Regions from separate parts of the Homo sapiens genome. Here region 1 is linked to region 2. Evidence: promoter capture Hi-C in human tissues and cell types (Jung and others, 2019). All regions are on one chromosome and are shown on one strand. The core of a region is centred on a gene start or on the middle of the fragment in contact, and the rest is flanking DNA. Distances in the headings are between cores, read along the strand shown. Region 1 has its middle 36 kb from the start of GPR12. Region 2 holds the start of WASF3 (WASP family member 3).

Region 1 (4,772 bases), core at 430-2,929, 170 kb before region 2:
AGAAAAATGGAAATTAAGGTGAAATGCAAATTAAAGCCATAATGAAAAAGCACTATACACCCAACAAAACTGGCCCACTGGAAAGGATGGAAAATCCTGGTGAGAGCGTGGAGCAACCAGAATGTTCATGTGCTGCTTACAAGAGTGTTACAATTTTGGAAAACTGCTTGGAATACCTTCTAAAGCTGGAATACGCACATTCTGTGACCCAGTAATCCCATCCCAAGTAATACAGCCAATACACACAAGACATGCAACAGAATGTTTATAGCAGCTCTACTCACAGTAGCCCCAAAGGGGACGCTACCCAAATTCACACCAAGAGTACAGTGGATAAATAAACCATATTTGCAGGATGGAATACTCTAGGGATTAGCAAGCTACAGCTCATTGCCTGTTTTTGTACAGCTTGAGAGTTAAGAATCATTTTTGTATTTTCAAAGTGTTGTAACTAATCTCTGAACCTCACAGAAGAGAACAAGAAGAGGAGGAGGAGGAGGAGGAAGAAAATGTGACAAAGATCACATGTGGCTTGCAAAACCTAAACTATTCATTATTTGGCCCTTTATAAAGTTTTCTGACTCCTACAATACTCTACAGCAAGCTTGTCCAGGCCGCATGAGGCCCAGGACGGCTTTGAATGCGGCCCAACACAAATTCGTCAACTTTCTTAAAATATTATGAGATTTTCTTTCCAATTTATTTTTAGCTCATCAGCTATTGTTAGCATCAGTGTATTCTACATGTGGCCCCAGACAATTCTTCTTCTTCGACTGTGGCCCGGGGAAGCCAAAAGATTGGACGCCCTGCTCTATAGCAATAAAAATAAGCAACAAACATAATGTTGAGAAAAGCTAGACACAAGAATACATATACCGTGTAATTATATTTATAAAAACAGCAAACCCAGGTAGAACTAGTCTGAGCTGTTGGAAATTAGGATCGTGGCTGCCCTGAGGGCAGGAGGCAGTGGCTGGAAAGGAGGCGAAGGGGTTTCTGGGGCCTTGGTACTGTGCCATTCCTCCATGTGAGTGTTAGTTACACAAATGTGTTGTTTGAGAAAAACATTTAATTTCAATTTCTGCAATTTTCTGTATGTTCACTGGGCTTCATTAAAAGGTTCAAAACAAAAAAGCACACCACCTTTTCCCACCACACTCAAAATCACTACACAGGTGTAGCCTCTATGGTGGGGGGAGAAGGGAGGGGCTTCAAAACCAATAAACAAACAAGAACGGGGTTAAATATCTACTGAAGTGAGACTGTTTAAGAGCAAAGTGGAATCTAAATTGTCATTTCCCTACATGTCAGGAAACGGGCGTTCAACATAGCCCAGAAATAGGTCCACACAAACAGAGTCAACTGACATTTGACAAAGGAGCAAAGGCAGTTCCATGGAGCAAAGACAGTCTTTTGAACAATTGGCTCTGGAGCAACTAGACACCCACAGGCAAAAGAATGAATCTAGACACAGAACCTCACAAAAATTAACTCAAAGGGAATCATAGACCTAAATGCAAAACACAAAACATCTGTGGGATACCAAAGGAGAAAATCTAGGTAATCTTAGACTTGGTGGTAAGCTTTTAGATACATCACCAAAAGCATAATCCATGAAAGAAAAAAATTGTTAAGTTGGACTTCATTAAAATTAAAAACTTCTGGCTGGGAGCAGTGGCTCACACCTGTAATCCCAGCAATTTGGGAGGCCGAGGAGGCCAGATCACTTGAGGTCAGGAGTTTGAGACCAGCCTGGTTAACATGGTGAGACCCCGTCCCTACTAAAAATACAAAAAGTAATCAGATGTTGTGGTGCATGCCTGTAGTCCCACCTACTTGGGAGGCTGAGGCAGGAGAATCACTTGAACCCAGGAGGCAGAGGCTGCAGTGAGCCAAGATCATGCCACTGCGCCTTAGCTTGGCTGACAGAGTGAGACTCCATCTCAACAACAACAACAACAACAAAAATTAAAAACTTCTGTTCTGCAAGAGACACTGTATGTGACTGAGAAGACAAGCACCTGTGTCCAAAATATGCAAGGAACCATCAAAACTTAACAATAGGAAACAACTCAGTTTAAAAATGGGCAAAGGACATGAGCAGACATCTCACCAAAGGAGATACACAGATGGCAAATAAGCATATGAAAAGATGTTCAACATCACACCATAAGAGAATTGCAAATTAAAATAAGATACCACTACACATCTATTAGAATGGCCTTAATCCAGAACACTGACATCACCAAATGCTAGTGAGGATATGGGGCAACAGGAATTAACATTCACAGCTGGTAAGGATGCAAAATGGGACAACCACTTTAGAAGACAGTTTGGAAGTTTCTCGCAATGTTAAACATAATCTTATATGATCCAGCAATTGTGCTCCTAGATATTAACCCAATTCAGTTGAAAACCTATGTCTTTACAGAAACCTGCACACAAATATTTATAGTAGCTTTATTAATAATTACACCAAACTGAAAGCAACCAAGATGTTTTTCAGTAGGTGAATGATAAGCAAATGGTGATACAACCAGACAATTAAATAGTATTCATCAATTTAAAAAAATGAGCAATCAAGCTACCAGAAGACATAGTGGCTTTCTCTTTTCAGGAAGAACCTGAAAAGCATATTGCTAAGGGAAAGAAGCCAACCTGAATGATTCCAACTATAACACATTCTGGAAAAGGCAAAACTATGGAGACAGTAAAAAAGTTCGATGGTTACCAGGGGTTGGTGGGAGGGAGGAATGCATAGGTGGAGAACAGGGGATTTTTTTTTTTTTAATTGATCATTCTTGGGTGTTTCTCACAGAGGGGGATTTGGCAGGGTCATAGGACAATAGTGGAGGGAAGGTCAGCAGATAAACAAGTGAACAAAGGTCTCTGGTTTTCCTAGGCAGAGGACCCTGAGGCCTTCCGCAGTGTTTGTGTCCCTGGGTACTTGAGATTAGGGAGTGGTGATGACTCTTAAGGAGCATGCTGCCTTCAAGCATCTGTTTAACAAAGCACATCTTGCACCGCCCTTAATCCATTTAACCCTGAGTGGACACAGCACATGTTTCAGAGAGCACAGGGTTGGGGGGTAAGGTCACAGATCAACAGGATCCCAAGGCAGAAGAATTTTTCTTAGTACAGAACAAAATGAAAAGTCTCCCATGTCTACTTCTTTCCACACAGACACGGCAACCATCCGATTTCTCAATCTTTTCCCCACCTTTCCCCGCTTTCTATTCCACAAAACCGCCATTGTCATCATGGCCCGTTCTCAATGAGCTGTTGGGCACACCTCCCAGACGGGGTGGTGGCCGGGCAGAGGGGCTCCTCACTTCCCAGAAGGGGTGGCCGGGCAGAGGCGCCCCTCACCTCCCGGACGGGGCGGCTGGCCGGGCGGGGGGCTGACCCCCCCCACCTCCCTCCCGGACGGGGCGGCTGGCCGGGCGGGGGGCTGACCCCCTACCTCCCTCCCGGACGGAGCGGCTGGCCGGGCAGAGGGGCTCCTCACTTCCCAGTAGGGATGGCTGGGCAGAGGCGCCCCTCACCTCCCTGACGGGGCGGCTGGCCGGGCGGGGGGCTGACCCCCCCACCTCCCTCCCGGACGGGGCGGCTGCCGGGCGGAGACGCTCCTCACTTCCCAGACGGGGTGGCTGCCGGGCGGAGGGGCTCCTCACTTCTCAGACGGGGCGGTTGCCAGGTGGAGGGTCTCCTCCCTTCTCAGATGGGGCGGCTGGGCAGAGACGCTCCTCACCTCCCAGACGGGGTCGCGGCCGGGCAGAGGCGCTCCCCACATACCAGACGGGGCGGCGGGGCAAAGGCGCTCCCCACATCTCAGACGATGGGCGGCCGGGCAGAGATGCTCCTCACTTCCTAGATGGGATGGCGGCCGGGAAGAGGCGCTCCTCACTTCCTAGATGGGATGGCGGCCGGGCAGAGACGCTCCTCACTTTCCAGACTGGGCAGCCAGGCAGAGGGGCTCCTCACATCCCAGACGATGGGCGGCCAGGCAGAGACGCTCCTCACTTCCTAGACGGGGTGGCGGCCGGGCAGAGGCTGCACTCTGGGCACTTTGGGAGGCCAAGGCAGGCGGCTGGGAGGTGGAGGTTGTAGCGAGCCGAGATCACGCCACTGCACTCCAGCCTGGGCACCATCGAGCACTGAGTGAACCAGATACCGTCTGCAATCCCGGCACCTCCGGAGGCCGAGGCTGGCGGATCACTCGCGGTTAGGAGCTGGAGACCAGCCCGGCCAACACAGCGAAACCCCGTCTCCACCAAAAAAATAGGAAAACCAGTCAGGCGTGGCGGATCGCAGGCACTCGGCAGGCTGAGACAGGAGAATCAGGCAGGGAGGTTGCAGTGAGCCGAGATGGCAGCAGTACAGTCCAGCTTTGGCTCGGCATCAGAGGGAGACCGTGGAAAGAGAGGGAGAGGGAGACCGTGGGGAGAGGCAGACCGTGGGGAGAGGGAGACCGAGAGGGAGAGGGAGAGGGAGAGGGAGAGGGAGAACAGGGGATTTTTAGGGCAGTGAGGCTGTTCTGTACACTATAATGGTGGATACTTGTCATTATGTGTTTGCCACGACCCATAAAATGTAAAACCCCAAGAGTGAAACCTATGAAAACTCTTAACTCTGGTTAATAATAATTCATCAATATTGGCTCCTCAATTGTAACAAATGTATCACACTTGCAAGATGTTAATCACAGGGAAACTGTGTGGGTGCAGAGAGTGTATATGGGAATTCTTTGTACTTTCTGTGCAATTTTTCTG
Region 2 (5,106 bases), core at 1,071-3,570:
CTACTAAAAGTACAAAAATTAGCCGGGCATGGTGGCGGGCGCCTGTACTCCCAGCTACTCGGGAGTCTGAGGCAGGAGAATCGCTTGAACCCAGGAGGCGGAGGTTGCAGTGAGCCGAGATCACACCACTGCACTCCAGTCTGGGAGACAAGAGCAAGACTCCGTCTCAAAAAAAAAAAAAAAAAAAAAAAAAAGAAAGAAAGAAAGAAAGAAAAGAAAAGAAAAAGAGATTCAAGGTCTACAGCAATGGAGAGCCACCCAAAGTGAAAAACAATCTGGGAGTACTCTTCAAAGAAAGTCCTTGGAATTCCAAAGACGATCACTAGTACTAGCCCGTGAGTAGGGACAATTCATTTAATACTTGCATTATAACGCAATTGTTTTAATCAAAACATCCCAATAACCAAAAGGTTACCTGCCATACATAGGTTTCTATGGGAACCGTAACGTGTGACTACAAAGACACACTGACAAGAGATAGGAGGTTACAATGTTGGCATGACCACTTAGCAAAGTGTGTTCCACCTTTGTTTTCGTAATTGTTGAAGATAGTGAAGCACATCATTGACTATTAGGTTGTAAATTTTAAAGCAAACAGATTTTTTAAAAACAAATGCTATTAAGCAACTTCATGTCAGCCAACTGGAAATGCAAGAACAATTTCTATATGTACATAGTTCTAGAATAAGCACAGGTTGGAAGGTAAATATAATAGTTGACCAAACTTTCCAATATTTAAACATGTGAAAAGACACAGCTTTTGTGAATACCAACTAAGAAAATCTTTCAAGATGAAGAAAAATGAGTACTACACTGAAGTCATTAGAACCCTGGGAGAAGGGAGCTGGAGAGGACACAATGAGAATGCCTTTGGGAAAGGTCAAACCCAGCTTTCGTTTGTTTAACCTCTCAAGCAGATAAAAGAACTAGCTTTAAAGAACCACTGCATTGTTTAACTGCTAGAAAAGGAGAGTTGGGTAAAGCACATATAAAAAGAAGCAATAGAATTTGCCCTAGAGACAATAGAAAGATTAGTCAATTACAATACTTTGAACTTAGTTTTGATAGAGTCGCATTTTAAGCTTTAGATAAACCTAATTTTTAAGATGCAAAATATTTCAAATAGCTATCCTCTCCCCCTTATAAAAAGTAGACTCTGAATCTTAAAATACCATGTTCTGCTATGCATTTAATTTGAAGAACTGCGAAAAGTAGTCTTTTTAATTTTCAGTTTTTGAAAACTCGAGACTGTTGCTGGAAGTAAACCGCTAATTTAAAAATTAACCTTAAAATGAGAAAGAATTCCTATGATGCTCCCATTGATCCCTAAGCCCATCACATAGTTTCTGAATAATTAAGAACTCTCGTCTCCACCAGGGAACTCTCCCTTGCAGAGGGGCCAAATCAAGAAGCAATCGCCATTGCACGTCAGCACCACAAACTGAGAGGAAGCTTCTGCCCTCGCTAAAGCCCAGGCGCGCGGGTAAAGACCCCCGGGGATGATACCCCGCGCGCCGCGGCTCCGTGCGCGCGGTCCCCCGCACTCGCGGGCCGCCCCACCTCCTCCCCTGCACTCCAAGAGTCCGGCCTGGTCTCCGAGGCCGGGAGCCACGCGGCACCGCAGCCTCGAGGGAGAGGACGCCCGCAACCAACACGCACGCGGGCACCAAGAGGGCACAGGCCAGGGCGGCGAGGGCCGAATGGGGCCGGGGGGCACGCGGAGCTGGACCAGAACCAGCGAGGGCGCGCAGACACTGAACGGATGCGAAGGTCCCGGACGCGGAGCGGCCCGGGGCGTCGTGCGTGGGGCGCGAGCGGAGGCCCGGGCGCCACTTACGGCGGGGAGGGCGGGTGGCTGTCCCGAGTCCAGGGAGCGCGCACCGGACGGCAAAGGGCCGGAGGCCCGGAGGCGCGGGAGAGAAGGGCCGCCTGGCCGCGCCGTGACGGCGAGAAGCCCCTGCCAGCGCGGGAGCCGGCCGGGAGAATGCGGCCGGGCTGCAGGGATAGGCGCGAGGCGGCGCCGCAGCCCGCAGTGGGCCCCGCCGCCCGGCCGGAGCGCGCGGCGATGCAGCAACTTCAGTTCGCCGTGGGGCCGCCCCTCCCCCGACAGCCGCCCGGCCCGGAGCCGAGAGGGCCACAGCAGCCTACAGCGGAGAGCCGGGGCGACCGCAGCCCTCACTCACCGGTCCGCGGTCCCGCCGCCGGCGCCGGGGCTGCGCTCTGAGCTCCATGGTCCCGCCGCGCCGCGGCCGCCCGGCGCACCCGCCTCGCACCACACCGCACGCAGCGGCGCGAGCGACGCCGCCTCCGGCCCGTCCACGGCCGCGGCCACGCCCCCTCCCGGCGGGGGGGCTCGGCCGGAGCAGGAGGGGGGCTCAGTGCCGGCTCCACCAACCAGGGCCAACTCACGGGGCCGCTTCACCAGGATTGGCGAGTGCCTCGGCCAATAGGGAGCCGGCGAGCGCGCTGAGCGACGGTGCCGAGGGGCGGGGGATTGCGGAGGCGGTGGCTCTCACCCTTGGTCCTCCGCCCCCAGCTCGGGATGAGGCTTAGGCAGCGTCCTTTCCAGCGAGGAGAGGTGGGGATACTTCGGGCCAAGAGACCCTTGTATCACCTCTGATTGCTAGGTGCCCATTACAGTACCTTTGAGTTTGCGCTTATATCCTAATCCTCCCTGGGTGTTGAGGGCTCCTGCACAGAGGTCCTCTACCTGTAAGGTGTCAGACGTCCTCCAGGGCTGAGGCTTCAGGCAACCCTGAGAGGACTGTAGCCCTGTTCATGGGTTGGTTTTATGCCCTGCTCAAATTCGTTAGCATTCTTAAAATCTTCCCATCTCCTTCAACACAGATTCTTCTGTTTTTATCACCCTATAACCAATCTCTCTCCACCCTAGATGTGAGGAAATCCACAATACTTATTAAAACTAAGATATCCCTGAAACTGCCAGCTAAGCCCTGCCACAGTGGAACATAGCCACGTGCGACCAGATGACTGAGGCATAAACAAACTTAAGAAAAAGAAAGGAGGAAAGGAAAGGAAGAGAAGAAAAGATAGAAAAGCCAAGATAGAAAAGCTAGGTCACAAAGGAAAGGGGTTTAAAAACATCTAATAGAAATGTTACCTTTATTTTAATTTGCATGCCTTTATTCTTTTTATTTACCAATAGGATCACTAAATTGAAAAACTTTTAGGAAAAAATTTTAAATTCTAATGAATAGTTCAAGAAACACTAATTCAAGTTGGTTTGCTCTTTTCTTTACAGATGTGTAATAATGATCAACATCTAGCTAGAGACAACTAAAAGTTGGAAAAAATGAATAGCAGTTAATAATTTCACCAAAGTTTGCAACACCAGAAATGCAGTAGAAAAATCATGCAGCCCTCTTCATAAAATGTCTAATCTATTAACCTGCATTACTTCCAAAGGAGGGATTTTAAAAGCTCTTTTTAAAGATGACGTATATTCAGTTTCCATAAAGTGCCATCATTTTAAAAAATTGCTGGTAATTAACAAGGTAAACAGGATTTTGGTGAATAATTACAGTGACCCAGTATTTTAAATATTGATACTAGAGTGACAAATGTCTGCTGAATTGAAAGCTAAATTGGCATTCAAATTAAAATGACTTTCCTTCATTTCATCTTCACTTACCCAGGGGAATGGCTTCCATGTCTATGTTTAGGTCATTAATTTAGAACTCAAAAATATGAAAGTATAGATACCCAGAGTGTTTTCAAGGTTGCTAATCATATTTCCCTGGCTGCTTCCCTCTTCGGTGACCCCAGCCTTATAAACCGCTGCTACACTTAGTTTGCACTCACTGTTAGCCCTTAAACACATCATCCCAAAGTGTTCAGGTTTGTTTCATATAGGTCAGTCTTACCTCTCTAATTAGATCATCAGTTCCATGAGGATAAGGCCCTTATTTTACAGTCCTCTTTCCTCCTTTTATAATGCCTAGTACAGTGCTGAGCATGTGGTAAATATGATTCTATTCCTAGTGTTGTGGTTCATGGTACAAATAAATTATTTCAAATATGGTCTTGTGTGAACCAGTCCTTTAAATAAAAACTGCTTAGAGCAGTCTTGTTAGAGGATTAGAGCCCACCGCTAATAAGTGCCTCATCCTTAATAAAATGTTGCTGCATCAGGGAGTGAATTGGTGACCTGTAACAGAATCTTGACTAAAAGTGCCTACTAAATAGGAGTGCTTCTTATCACAAAACCAGAAACCTGGAGACAGCCACAGGGCTTCTGTAATATCTCTTCTATGGTGTCGTTGTGTCTCAGGCTCTTTCTAGCCATTGTCTCTGCTATCCTTGTCATGTGATCTCTGTCTTCATCCTCACAGGATGCCTGCTTCCCTTGTAAGCATTGCATCACATTGAGGAAAATGGTAGGGGGATGGGTAAAGGGCAAAAGATCAAAGAGGTGCATGCCCAGTTGGGTCTGCATCTTCCTGGGAAGCTTTACCCAGCACCTTCTGCTTGCATTTTATTGGCCAGCCACATGTCACATGACCACCTTTAGCTGCAAAGGAGTCTGAAATGCTAAGTATTTAAAGTTGGGGCATTGGCTGGAGGAATATTAGAGTTTTGTTAGTAATGGAAAAGAGGAATGCAGACCTTGGGTATGAGAGTGGCAGTACCTGATGTAGTTGCTGAATAAATGAATTCATGATTGAGCCCTCACTCTATTTATTCATAAGACCCACTTTTTTAAAAAGGCCACTCAGGTGTCAATTAAAAAACAATCCAATTTTCAAGTGAGCAAAAGATCTAAACAGACACCTCCCTAAAGTGGAGTTGACAATACACAGATGGCAAATAAACATGCTCAATATCATGTGTCATTAAGGAATTGCAAATTAAAACAAAAATGAAATACTATGACATACCTACTAGGATGGCTAAAATAAAAAAGCTAACGGCAACAACAACAAAAAACCTAAGGATACCAAATACTGGCAAGGATACAAAACAACAGGAATGCCCATCCATTGCCGATGGGAATGCAAAATGGTACGACCACTTTGGAAGACAGTCTGGCAGTTTCTCACAAAGCTAAGCATAGTCTCACAATTCAGTCCAGCCATCACACTCCTA

The links. The method cuts DNA at HindIII sites, captures the fragments that hold promoters and counts their contacts. A contact is called where the count stands out against the background at its distance.
Region 1: a fragment that was not itself captured here is called in contact with the fragment with the promoter of WASF3 in region 2 in 2 of the 25 tissues and cell types used here (aorta and dorsolateral prefrontal cortex).

The regions. Positions count from the first base shown.
Region 1 is chr13:26,722,832-26,727,603 of GRCh38, reverse strand. No RefSeq gene overlaps it. Among named protein-coding and RNA genes, the nearest start is that of GPR12, 36 kb to the left of the region's middle. The HindIII fragment of the contact is 4,497 bases long and covers 1-3,927 here.
Region 2 is chr13:26,554,897-26,560,002 of GRCh38, reverse strand. It overlaps WASF3 (WASP family member 3), which reads right to left and starts at 2,320. Exons shown (of 10, transcript NM_006646.6): 1 at 2,184-2,320. RefSeq lists silencers at 2,217-2,426, 2,687-2,746. The HindIII fragment of the contact is 5,812 bases long and covers 1,268-5,106 here.